4 separate regions of the Homo sapiens genome follow, and regions 1, 3 and 4 are each linked to region 2. Evidence: promoter capture Hi-C in 16 types of primary human blood cells and fetal thymus (Javierre and others, 2016). All regions are on one chromosome and are shown on one strand. Each heading gives the region's core, a stretch centred on a gene start or on the middle of the fragment in contact. The rest is flanking DNA. Distances are from core to core; before and after follow the strand shown. Region 1 overlaps RASSF3-DT (RASSF3 divergent transcript). Region 2 holds the start of GNS (glucosamine (N-acetyl)-6-sulfatase). Region 3 overlaps LOC105369803 (a long non-coding RNA gene). Region 4 overlaps LOC105369803 (a long non-coding RNA gene).

Region 1 (2,986 bases), core at 388-2,887, 160 kb before region 2:
ATCGGGTTTCTCCATGTTGGTCAGGCTGATCTCGAACTCTCAACCTCAGGTGATCCACCCAGGCTGATCTCGAACTCTCAACCTCAGGTGATCCACCCACTTCGGCCTCCTACAATGCTAGGATTACAGGCGTGAGCCACCGCACCCAGCCTCAGTGTATTTTTTTTTAACACGTTGGCCTTCACATATCTGGTCAATTTTTCTCCATTTTATTTTATTTTTTAATTTTTTTCCTGAGATGGAGCCTTGCTCTGTTGCCCAGACTGGAGTGCAGTGGCTCGATCTTCGCTCACTGCAACCTCCACCTCCTGGGTTCAAGCAGTTCTCCTTCCTCAGCCCCTCGAGTAGCTGGGATTGCAGGCATGCACCACCGTACCCAGCTAATTTTTGTATTTTTAGTAGAGACAGAGTTTCACCATGTTGGCCAGGCTGGTCTCAATTTCCTGACCTCGTGATCCACCTGCCTCACCCTCCCAAAATGTTGGGATTACAGGCATGAGCCATGGCACCCGGCCTATTTTATTTTTTATTTTATTTATTTTATTTTTATTTTTATTTTGAGACAGAGTCTCGCTCTATTGCCCAGGCTGGAGTGCAGTGTCACAATCTCAGCTCACTGCAACCTTTCCCTCCCAGGTTCAAGTGATTCTCCTGCCTCAGCCTTCCTAGTGGCTGGGATTTACAGTCGTGCACCACCACGCCTGGCTAATTTTTGTATTTTTAGTAGAGATGGGGTTTCACCATGTTGCCCAGGCTGGTCTCGAACTCCTGACCTCAGGTGATCCACCCACCTTAGCCTCCCAAAGTGCCGGGATTACAGGCATGCGCCAACCACACCTAGCCTATTTTAAGTGTTTGATTTAGCAGGCAAATAGATTGTGCTTAAGTTTTTGCTAGTGACCTGTCTTCTCCCTGAACTTCCTATTCTATTCCTCTTACGTATCCTTCTCCTTTAAGAATCAAACTAAATCCCACCTCCTTTGAAGGCTTCCTGACCAAATCTTTTATTTATTTTGTTTTGAGACAGAGTCTCACTCTGTCACCCAGGCTGGAGTGCAGTGGTGCAATCTCAGTTTACTGCAACCTCTGCCTCCCGGGTTCAAGCAATTCTCCTTCCACACCTCCCGAGTAGCTGGGATTACAGGCACAAGCCACCATGCCCAGCTAATTTTTTTGTATTTTTAGTAGAGATGGGGTTTCACCATGTTGGCCAAGCTGACCTAGAACTCCTGACCTCAAGTGACTTGCCCACTTTGGCCTCTCAAAGTGCTGGGATTACAGGCGTGAGCCACCTTGCCCGGCCCTTGACCAAATCTTATCACATTCTTCTGACTTTGGCTTATATTTTGACACATTCTTCACAGGTTTATTGATTGGGTAATCACAGTCTGTTATCATTACATAATTGTTCTATGGGGAATATTTTTTTCGTTAACTAGTTTATAAGGTTTTGAAGGCCAGAAATCTATCTAACTCTTCTTTTATGTCTTACCCAGTTTCCATGGTGCTATGCATATAATAAGATCTCAGTACTTAAGGTAGTGAAAGAGTGGATGTAGCTATAGCTATGGCATGGATATAGCACAGCAGGGAACAAGGGAGAACAATTGCTGAATTATATCCATCAGCAATTTTCCTTTGATATGGACAATTTATGCAGCCCAGCTTAGGCTACCACTAAGGCCTCCACAGAAATTCTGAGGGCACTGTTAGGTCTCTTACTTGTATTTATTAAGAAGGCTCAATTTCTCCCTGGAATGCCTTTCTTGAACAAAAAAGCATTTCTATTTTCCTAAAGCTGTTGTCATGAGACACAGATTTCTTTTTTTTTTTTAAATTATACTTTAAGTTCTAGGGTACATGTGCACAACGTGCAGGTTTGTTACATATGTATACGTGTACCACGTTGGTGTGCTGCAACCATTAACTCGTCATTTACATTAGGTATATCTCCTAATGCTATCCCTCCCCCCTCCCCCCACCCCACATCAGGCCCTGGTGTGTGATGTTCCTCTTCCTGGAGACACAGATTTCAAAGTCAGATATGGTCACCAGATCTCTGCCTTGTGTTTGTGATAAACAGTCCTTATTTAGCCACATTTTATTTATTTCTGTTCCCCTCTCTATCTCTTGACGCGCTGAGGTTAAATCTCAAGCAAAAATGTCAGAAATGTCTGTTTATTCTTCCCAGTTTACAAAATGCACGTGGCTGCAGAGATGACATGACTTGACAAGTAGTGGTGACTCTTCACTTTGAGGACAGCATTAATCTCCCAGCCTCAGCTCTGCTTCTAGAAGCCCCTGTAAGACATAATATCACTATGGATGGGTCATAATCATGGTCAATGCCTCATGGCAAAAAAAGTTCAGGATCTCCCTACCTGTATTCAAACTAAGGGATAGATGGCTAAAAGCCCTTAGCAGAAGCGTGGGGGTAGGGAGCACAAATTAATTGCAAGGACTGATCAAAATCAATGTTGGAAAGTTCAATGTCCCAGACAATTGAATAAAAATAATCTTTTCTCTCATTTAAAAACCTCGAATACAATCTCTGTCACACAAAGACACTCTCTAATAACATATTTCAAATCAATTCACTGCAAATCATTTGTGGCTGGAAACCCTTGTGGTTTCCTCTGAAGTTGTCTGACACTCCTCTCACCCTAGGTTGGCTGAGCCCGAAGGCTGTGTAGTGTAGTGATCAGGAGGGTGAACGTGGGAGCTCGGGCTGCCTTGCCGCTTGCCGTTGTAAAGTCTATGCCACGCTTCCAGGGGAAGATGAGAAGTGTTAGGAGGATTAAATGAGTTTAGGAGCGCTCAAAATACTGCCTGATAAGCCGGGCGCGGTGGCTCACGCCTGTAATCCCAGCACTTTGGGAGGCTGAGGCGGGTGAATCACGAGGTCAGGAGATCGAGACCATCCTGGCTAACACGGTGAAACCCCGTCTCTACTAAAAATACAAAAAATTAGCCGGGCGTGGTGGCG
Region 2 (3,154 bases), core at 436-2,935:
CTCACACACATGGACCTTTTCTATTCTATTCTATTCCAGAGGAAATAAAAAATGTTGGTAGTTACTCACTAAACTGATTTCATAACTCACTCAAGGGTTGGGACCAGAGGTTTGAAGGACACTGAGCTAGGGTGTGTAACTACACAAGAAAAGTTAGGAACGTCTTGCCTGGAGTATTTCATAGTCTCAGCATTCAGCTGAAAGCAAAAAGAGAACTGAAACGAAGAAAGCAATAAAGCATTTGGTTTTAAAGCGAAGAGAGGAATGCTGAACCCAGGGTCAGAGGACTCTGCCTCAACTACTCATGTCTTGGGCAAGTTGCTTTCTGGGCCTCCATGGGGAAGGGGTTGGAGTGGATGTTTCCAAAGGTCACACATTCCATAATTCTGCAATACACAAGCAAAATTTACTCTGGAAAAAAAATGAAGTCTTGTGACAACACCCATTAGATAGAAAATGAAACACTGACAGTCTCTAATGCAACAGTCAGGTGTTCAATCACACTAATTGAATTTTCTTGATTCTTGTGAGGCAACACACACCCTCAATAGTTCGACGGTCGGCCTACCAGATTAGTTCACTTCAGGCCTTTTTTTTTTTTTTTTTTTTTTTTTTTTTTTGGAGACGGAGTCTCGCTCTGTCGCCAGGCTGGAATGCAGTGGCGCGATCTCGGCTCACTGCAACTGCTGCCTCCCGGGTTCAAGCGATTCTCCTTCCTCAGCCTCCCAAGTAGCTGGGACTACAGCTGCGCGCCACCACGCCCAGCTAGAATTATTGTATTTCTAGTAGAGACGGGGTTTCACCATGTTGGCCAGGATGGTCTCGATCTCTTGACCTTCTGATCCGCCCGCCTCGGCCTCCCAAAGTGCTGGGATTACATGAGTGACACACCGCGCCCGGCCCAGGCTTATTTTTATTGACATCAGATACAGACATTGTATACAGGCACAAACGTGGAGGTGGTCTAGGTCCCTCATAAAGGGGACTGGACTTGTCTGTGATCCTCTAATCCAAAAGAAAAACAATCAGGCCTTGAGTGCTCTTAGACAGCACCTGATCCTCATTGGTTCAACCCATCCTCCACTGGTCTCCACATGTTTATCTTGAGATATTAACGTAAACTCCACAGCAGTACGGTCCAGACTAGAAGCTCTGTGTGCTGTACGCATGTGCCTCAATCCAGAAAGGAAAAGAGTATTGCAGTCCCTTACACCGGCATAAAGGGCCTCAGGTGGGAAAACCAAACCTACCCAAGGATAAGACAGCCAGTTCGGGGAGGAGGGTGGTGGGGACCGGGAAAGAGAGCAACAAACCGGGTAGTCAGCCCAAGAGATAGAGGGGCGGGGCAGAAACAGAAGAGTTACCATGCCGCCGAGCACTTCGTCCTGGTCGTCCGTGAGGAGCAGCACCACGTTGGGCCTCCGGGTTCCCGCAGCCACCCCGAAGACCCCCAGGCAGCCGCCCAGCACCAGCAGTAGCAGCGCTGGGCTGCAGGAGGGCAGGTGGCGGGGGCTGCCCCGCCGGAGCCGACCTGGGGCTAGAGGCAGGAGCCGCATAGCGGACAGGCTCCGGGGTGACCCCGGGACGGGACGGGACGGAGGGACGCACAGGTAGCTGAAGGGCGAGAGGCCGACCAGCCGAAGGAATAAAAAGCCGTGCCTTGAAGGCCGGTGGCTGGAGTCAGACGTTTTCTCCCTAGGCGCGATCACGTGAGCCAGGGACAGGGGGCGGAGCACGCTGCGCGGTCACGTGACGGCCGGCGTGGGCGGGGCTGCGGACTGGCGCAGCCTGGAGGGAGGCATCAGGCAGTGGCGGAAAAGGGGCGGAGAACCGGAGAAAAGGGCGGAGAACCGGAGAAAAGGGCGGAGAACCGGAGAAAAGGGCGGAGAACCGGGAAAAGGGCGGAGAACCGGGAAAAGGTCAAGACCTGTACGTACCTCTCGCGCAGGCTCGGGTTGCGTTCTGGTAGGACGTACGTGTTTCTGAGCGCTTGGTGGAAAGATTTAAATGGGGGGAAGAGAAGATGAAAAGCAGGAAAGAGTTGGCAAATACTAACCAACCGATAAAGGAAGAGAAAGGAGGACTGTACATAACAGAAATTATCATCAGCTGGTGAGGAAAGTGGACTCTACCATATTTAATCCCCAAGTCGACGGGCACTTATTCAAGGCCCGGATGTTTAATCGTTTTTAATTTTCTCTACAACTTGTGAGATAAATCTTAACATTCTCATTTGGCTCAGACATTAAATTCGGAACTGGTTAGCTCTCTTAACTCCAAAGCCTAATTATGTTCTTCTTTCCTCAGCAGACATCGTAGTTTCAAACAATTTAGGGATGTCCTGACAGCTTTATCCTAATGGTTATCCTAATGGTCCTTGGTGACTTTTTAAACACCCTCTTGGAACATGTTGGAGGATGTGCAGATCGAACAAAAATCTTGAAACGTGGTCATCCAACTGCATTATTAAGTAATCTTTAGCGGGGAATAGCCCTTGAAACTAGCTCCAGATATTTCTGTGGTCGCTCTGGAATAATTAGACTTTGCCCCTCTCCTCTCACCGCCCACCGTGGGCGCGGTGGCTCACGCTTGTAATCCCAGCACTTTGGGAGGCGGGTGGATCACCTGAGGTCAGGAGTTTTAGACCAGCCTGGCCAACGTGGGGAAACCCCGTCTCTACTAAAATACAAAAATTAGCTGGGCGTGGTGGCAGGCGCCTGTAATCCCAGCTACTCGGGAGGCTGAGGCATGAGAATCGCTTGAACCCGGGAGGCGGAGCTTGCAGTGAGCCACTGCACTCTGGCCTCAGGGACAGAGCGAGACTCTTGTCTCAAAACAAACAAACAAACAAAAAATCACAGAGATATTCCTGGCAAGGTGAACTGTCAAGTCACATCCCCAGACCGATATAACAAGGTATACCTCCTTGCTGGTAAAAGTATTTTCTCTGAGTTGAACTGTTTGCCAAGAAGAGTCTCTTAAAACTCGTGAAAACTATTCCAGAACTTAAAGTATTAAAAAAAAAAACTCGTGAAAACACTATACTATAAGGTAAAAATAATGATGGAAACACGTTGAAACCTGATGTGTACAAGGATAGGGCTTATGCAAAAAAAAAAAAATTACCTTTATTACTTTGTTTTTTTCACACAGA
Region 3 (2,899 bases), core at 335-2,834, 250 kb before region 2:
ACAAATGGGATCAAGGCTATGGCTTTAGGAGATTGCTTGTCCATCACCACTAAGTCCTGCAAATTACCACTGACAATTCTGTTGGAAGTTGAGTTAGTGGATCCTGTTTTTTTTCACTCCTCTATGAAAAAATTGTGTTTTTATGAACGAGGTCAGGAGGTCCATGCTTGAAAATTACCAAGTGTTGCATTAGGTTAGAGCTTCTCTTAAGAAAGCTTAAAACTCTTTCTTTAGAAAGAACATCTATTAATACAGTTTCTAGTTATGAGGGCCAAGGTCTAAAGGACAAGCCAAAAGAATGACAGAGGAAGGGGATTTAGGGCTAACAGGTGGTCCCCAGACATATTGGCTGAAAGGCAGTTCACAGCTAAAGTGTCATATGTGGGTGTTACTGTGCTCCTCATCCATGCTCTCTGTAGCGAGTCATTCTGGAACACTCCTGGTTCTCGCTATGGCCATAAGAAGTGACTTTCATGAGACCTTCAGAAGAATAGCCCGGCTCTTTTACTGGTTCCCCAAATCACTGACCTGCTCAAAGAATCGGAAATCCAAGCTGCTCTGGAGCCAAGGTGGGGGTAAGTTACCTCAGGCTAATGCCTTATTTCAAATCCGTTTTTTTGTGTGTGTGTGTTACATTTTAAAATGGAGCCTCCCTCGCATGGGCAGGGAGGAGTGGGAAAGAAAAGTCTTGAAGCCTTTAAAAGGTATTCCACTTGGTCATCTGGAGGGAAAATTGAGAGAAAATAAAATTAAGCATTTTGAGGCTGATGTATTAGAAGCCATGAACATTGTTACAATCCAATTGTATGCTTTTTAGGCATTTTGATTCCGAAAAGTTGACTAAAGAGAGATGGAGAATGTTTAGTATTTAAAAACAACAAAAACAGCTCTTATTCTCAGGGACTCTTAACTTGTCTTAGTACTAAAACATCTTAGAATAAACAGAACACAAAAAATAAGTCACAGTGAGTTCCCCTCCTTTCCATAGAAAACTAAAAAGGTCAGTGGGCCTTAAATCTCTTTTATTTGGGTCAGTTTATGCATCATATTTTAGGTATTTATTGATGTGAGAATTTAAAGCACCTTATATTTGCTACCATATAAAGCCCTGCCTTTTCTGTCCAGTCCTGCCTGACTGGAATATGCAAGGGTCAGAGGAGAGGGGGTTAAAGGGAGTAGATGACCCCTCCAAGTCTGGTATCTGAAGTTCCTGCAGGAGCCCAGCTTTCACCTTCATACTCTGCAGCACTGGTTGTACTACTCACACTACTGTAAGCCAATTCTCTCACTTCATAATGTTTCATCTTGCAACTGAATCAAAATTCTCATTATGTTTCTTTCACACCCATGTAGCTCAGAATTTTATGTAAGTGCTTAACAATTACTTAAGATGTATTATGTGTTTGATACATTATCAAACATAATCTGATGATGTGCTAGATTATCCAGTGCCAGATCCTCCTTTAAAAACAAGTGACGACTGGGCACCGTGGCTCACACCTGTAATCTCAGCACTTTGGGAGGCCGAGGCAGATGCATTACCTGAGGTGAGGAGTTCGAGACCAGCCTGGCCAACATGGTGAAAACCTGTCTGTACTAAAAATACAAAAAAATTAGCCGGGCATGGTGGCTGGTGCCTGTAATCCCAGCTACTCAGGAGACTGAGGCAAGAGAATCACTTGAACCTGGGAGGCGAAGGTTGCAGTGAGCCAAGATCATGCCACCGTACTCCAGCCTGGGCAACAAGAGCTAAACTTCGTCTCAAAAAAAAAACAAAAAACAGAAGTGACTATGATCTATAATCACCAAGGCAGGTATATGATTAAGACATTTATTTAAAAGCATGCAGACCGGGCGCGGCGGCTCATGCCTGTAATCCCAGCACTTTGGGAGGCCGAGGCGGGCAGATCACCTGAGGTCGGGAGTTCAAGACCAGCCTGACCAACATGGAGAAACCCTGTCTCTACTAAAAATACAAAATTAGCTGGGTGTGGTAGCACATGCCTGTAATCCCAGCTACTCGGGAGGCAGAAGCAGGAGAATTGCTCGAAAACCCAGGAGGTGGAGGTTGCGGTGAGCCGAGATTGTGCGATTGCACTCCAGCCTAGGCAACAAGAGTGAAACTCCGTCTCAAAAAACAAAAACAAAAACAAAAACAAAACCATGCAATTCATTTAAAAAAAAAAGAAATTTATAAAATATAAGGCCTAGGACATTTCAATCTTCCATTTTTTCTTTAATTTTTTTTCATTCTCACTGTCAAAATAGGGAGAATTTAACTTAATCGTTTAAGTCTCTGTTTATATGTACCATTCTTCAGATATGGATTAACATAATTTGGGAAGTTAGAGCCCCAAAAGAACTTAAGAAAAATCATCTTCACCAATTGCTTCATTTTAAAGATAAGCAAAAAGGCCAGGGGCGGTGGCTCATGCTTGTAATCCCAGCACTTTGGGAGGCCAAGGTGGGTGGATCACTTGAGGTCAGGAGTTTGAGACCAGCCTGGCCAACATGGCGAATCCCTGTCTCTACTAAAAATACAAAAATTAGCCGGGTGTGGTGGTGGGTGCCTATAATCCCAGCTACTTGGGAGGCTGAGCCAGAAGAATCGCTTGAGCCCAGGAGGTGGAGGTTGCAGTGAGCTAAGATGGAACCACTGCACCCCAGCCTGGGCGACAGAGCAAGACTCAGCCTCAAAAAATAAAAATAAGATGAGCAAACTGCCTCCAGAAGGTTAGATACCTTAACCTCCCAAAACTATTACATAGGCAGAACCAGAGCTTTATCCCAGATTATCTAATTCTTGGTCTGCTGCTCTTTTTATCACACCACAGAGCAATGGTGAGTAAGTAACAGAATGTGAACATACGAGCCCTCACTGAATATTTTACTTATAGCC
Region 4 (3,202 bases), core at 196-2,695, 230 kb before region 2:
AGCCGCGGTTGCAGTGAGCCAAGATTGCACCATTGTACTCCATCTGGGCGATAGAGTGAGACTCCGTGTCAAGAAAAATAAAAAAAGAAAATATTTGAACTACTTTTGTGATGCTCATTGCCATTTTCTACTCTGAATTGCAGATATTTGTGTATGTCTTAAAATCTGGTTTCAAGATTGTGGGTCTGAGGGGGACTATAACTAGAAGACTGCTTCCTTCTTTTTAGATGCTATGAAAGCATCCTCACTTATTTTTCCTTTTGTTTTCCCCCCATCTCCTTTTAGCAGGCCTGACTGGCAAAGCCATGCCTGGGTCAGGCAGCTCTTCTCCTCATTGTCTCATATGAACAGTCATACGCATTCTCCCACTTCATTTTCAGCCTTTTTCAGTTCCATCTCATTGGCCTACTTAAGATCATAATGAGCCTTGGCTGCGGAATGGGAAAATGGGCTGGCAGGTGGCAGTGGTGAGCGTGGGCGAAATTCCTGCAGACCCAGAATTTGTTTGCTTCAACATTTCATTTTCAAAGTCTACTTTTTTTTTTGCTCTCTGCTTTGGAGTTTCTTATATTACTGTAGTGTGATCAGAAGCATATAGATCTACTGTCAGAATAGACGAGAATAAAGGCCATTTGATTCCTCGCTGCTACTGTGATGCGTGTGAAAGACAGTATTGAAAGAGGCACATCATCAGCACGTTACCTCCGTCCCAAAGGCTGCAAAGAGTCTCAAGTGGGAGTGACAAGCCAGGTGAACAGGGAGAGATGTCTGTAGTGAGCTCATCTCCCAAATAGAACTCATTATTCTAACGATTCCTAGAATTGCCTTCATTTCTCACTATGAGACTGCAGGTCCACCCACCTCAGAACTATCTGGGGTGATTATTCATACTGCTTTCCCACACTCGGACAATGTAAGGGCCAGGATTTCTGGAGAAGGGACTATGTATCTACATTTTTATTTACTTCTTATTTTTAATTGACAGATAAAACTTATATACATATGTATTTATGGTATACAGCATGATGTTTTGAAATATGTACTTATTGCGGAATGGTTAAATCAACCTCATTAATATATGCATTGTCTCATATACTTATTTTTTTGTGGTGAGAACACTTAAAATCTACTTGGCAATTTTCAAGTATAGGATACATTGTTACTAACTATAGTCACTATGTTGTACAATAGAGCTCTCAAACTTATTCCTTCTGTCTAGGTGAAATTTTGTGTCCTTTGACCAATATCTCCCCTAACCCCTCCCAACCCCCAGCCTTTGGTAACCACTATTCTACTTTCTACCTCTGTGAGTACAAAACTTTTTAAAAAATGAGTTGTTTTTTTTTTAAATTTTTTAAAGACAGGGTCTTGCTTTGTCGCCCAAGCTGTAGTGTAGTGGTGTGATCATAGCTCACTGCAGCCTCAAACTCCTGGGCTCAAGCAATTCTCCCACCTCAGCCTACTGAGTAACTGGGACTATAGGCACATGCCACGTTGCTTGGATAACTTTTTAAAACTTTTCGTAGAGACAGAGTCTCACTATGTTGCACAGGCTGGTCTTGAACTCCTGGCCTCAAGTGATCCTCTTGCCTTAGCCTCCCAAAGTGCTAGGATTACAGGCGTGAGCCACTGCACCTGGCCCTGAGTTCAACTTTGTTAAATTCCACATAGAAGTGAGAACATGTGGTAATTGTCTTTCTGTGCCTGGCTTATTGCACTGAACTTCTCCACATTTATCTACACAATCACAAATGGCAGAATCCTTTTTTTAAAAGGCTGAATAGTGTTCCACCATGTACATATACCACATGTTCTTGATTAATTCATCTGTCCATGGACAGCTAAGTTGATTATCTTGGCTACTGTGAATGGTGGTGCAATGAACGTGGGGATTCAGTGAACCTGCAGTTTAACAAGTTACCCAGCTGAAGCTCATGCTGTCCTCCTCTGAGAACTGCTGAATTGCAGAATCCTATCATTGAGTCCCAGTGAGTCCTTCACAATCAATCAAGGTCTCCAGCAGAGAACCGGACTAAGAACAGGGCTTGAGGTTAGAACCTGGTCCTGCCATGTGTTGGCAGATGACTGTAAGAAAGCAGCTTAACCCTTCAGTACCCCAGTGTCCTCTTCCATAAAAAACAGAAGATAACGACAGTACCTATTCCTTGGGGATGTTTTAAGAATTAAATAAATTAATGCATATAAAGTACACTAATATGGCACACAGTAAGTGCACAATAAATGATAGCTCTCATTTCCTGCCCAATCCAGTGTTTCCCAAATGTCATTCACAGGCTATCTTCACAATTTTTGCCATACATGCATAACTCCCTACTAGTATTTTTACTAAGTACCTTACCCCCTTTTTTAGCATCATCCTAAAAAGTGATGCCTGGGGAATTATTTGATATACGATTACATTTTTAAAACATTAAAATTGATACCAGCAACTGGGTGTGGTGGCTCATGCCTGTAATCCCAGCATTTTGGGAGGCCAAGGTGGGCAGATCACTTGAAGCCAGGAGTTTGAGACCAGCCTGGCCAACATGGTGAAATCCCATCTATGCTAAAAATACAAATATTAGCTGAGCATGGTGGCACATGGCTGTAATCCCAGCTACTTGGGAGGCTGAGGCACAAGTATTGCTTGAACCTGGGAGGCAGAGGTTACAATGAGCTGAGATCAAGCCACTGCACTCCAGCCTGGGTGACAAAGCGACACTCTGTCTCAAAAAATAAATAAATAAATTTAAATTTTAAAAAATTGATACAGGCCAGGTGTGGTGGCTCACGCCTGTAATCCCAGCAAATTGGGAGGCCAAGGCAGGAGAACCACTCGCATCCAGGAGTTTGAGACCACTCTAGGCAGCATAGTGAGATCTTGTCTCTAAACACACACACACAAAATGTTAAAAAAAATTAGTGGGGCATGGTGGTGCACACCTGTAGTCCCAGCTACTTGGGAAGCTGAAGTGAGAGGATCACTTGAGCCCAGGAGGTGGAGACTGCAGTGAGCCATGATCCCACCACTGCATACCAGCCTGGGAGACAGAACACAAGACCCTGTCTCAAAAAAGAATTTTAAAAAAGAAATCGATACATAACTACTAAAATTTCAAAATGTTGATTTTAGGTACCACCAGAGTATGTCAACCACTGTCAGGAAACATTGATCTCATCCAACTTCAGTTCCGGCAACTGA

The links. Contacts are between HindIII fragments. The CHiCAGO score rates a contact against its expected background, and 5 or more counts as called.
Region 1: a fragment that was not itself captured here is called in contact with the fragment with the promoter of GNS in region 2 in 1 of 17 cell types (neutrophils); the score reaches 6.5 in neutrophils.
Region 3: a contact is called between a fragment that was not itself captured here and the fragment with the promoter of GNS in region 2, in 5 of 17 cell types (neutrophils, naive CD8 T cells, total CD8 T cells and 2 more). The highest score is 9.6, in neutrophils.
Region 4: a contact is called between a fragment that was not itself captured here and the fragment with the promoter of GNS in region 2, in 3 of 17 cell types (total CD4 T cells, non-activated CD4 T cells and neutrophils). The highest score is 6.6, in total CD4 T cells.

Annotation. Positions count from the first base shown.
Region 1 is chr12:64,596,916-64,599,901 of GRCh38, forward strand. RASSF3-DT (RASSF3 divergent transcript) reads right to left here. Exons shown (of 2, transcript NR_187549.1): 2 at 2,163-2,301. It also overlaps a transcript of RASSF3 not described here. Among named protein-coding and RNA genes, the nearest start is that of RASSF3-DT, 11 kb to the right of the region's middle. The HindIII fragment of the contact is 5,723 bases long and covers 1-2,986 here.
Region 2 is chr12:64,757,721-64,760,874 of GRCh38, forward strand. GNS (glucosamine (N-acetyl)-6-sulfatase) reads right to left here and starts at 1,686. Exons shown (of 14, transcript NM_002076.4): 1 at 1,365-1,686. The coding sequence starts at 1,556. It overlaps LOC124903113 (small nucleolar RNA U13), which reads right to left; the gene lies at 3,148-3,154. It also overlaps a transcript of TBC1D30 not described here. RefSeq lists an enhancer at 232-1,112. The HindIII fragment of the contact is 13,978 bases long and covers 1-3,154 here.
Region 3 is chr12:64,506,755-64,509,653 of GRCh38, forward strand. LOC105369803 (a long non-coding RNA gene) reads right to left here. Exons shown (of 4, transcript NR_188079.1): 4 at 1-721. It also overlaps a transcript of RASSF3 not described here. Among named protein-coding and RNA genes, the nearest start is that of TBK1, 56 kb to the left of the region's middle. The HindIII fragment of the contact is 2,742 bases long and covers 214-2,899 here.
Region 4 is chr12:64,525,205-64,528,406 of GRCh38, forward strand. The region is part of intron 3 of LOC105369803 (a long non-coding RNA gene); the gene reads right to left. It also overlaps a transcript of RASSF3 not described here. Among named protein-coding and RNA genes, the nearest start is that of TBK1, 75 kb to the left of the region's middle. The HindIII fragment of the contact is 4,446 bases long and covers 1-3,202 here.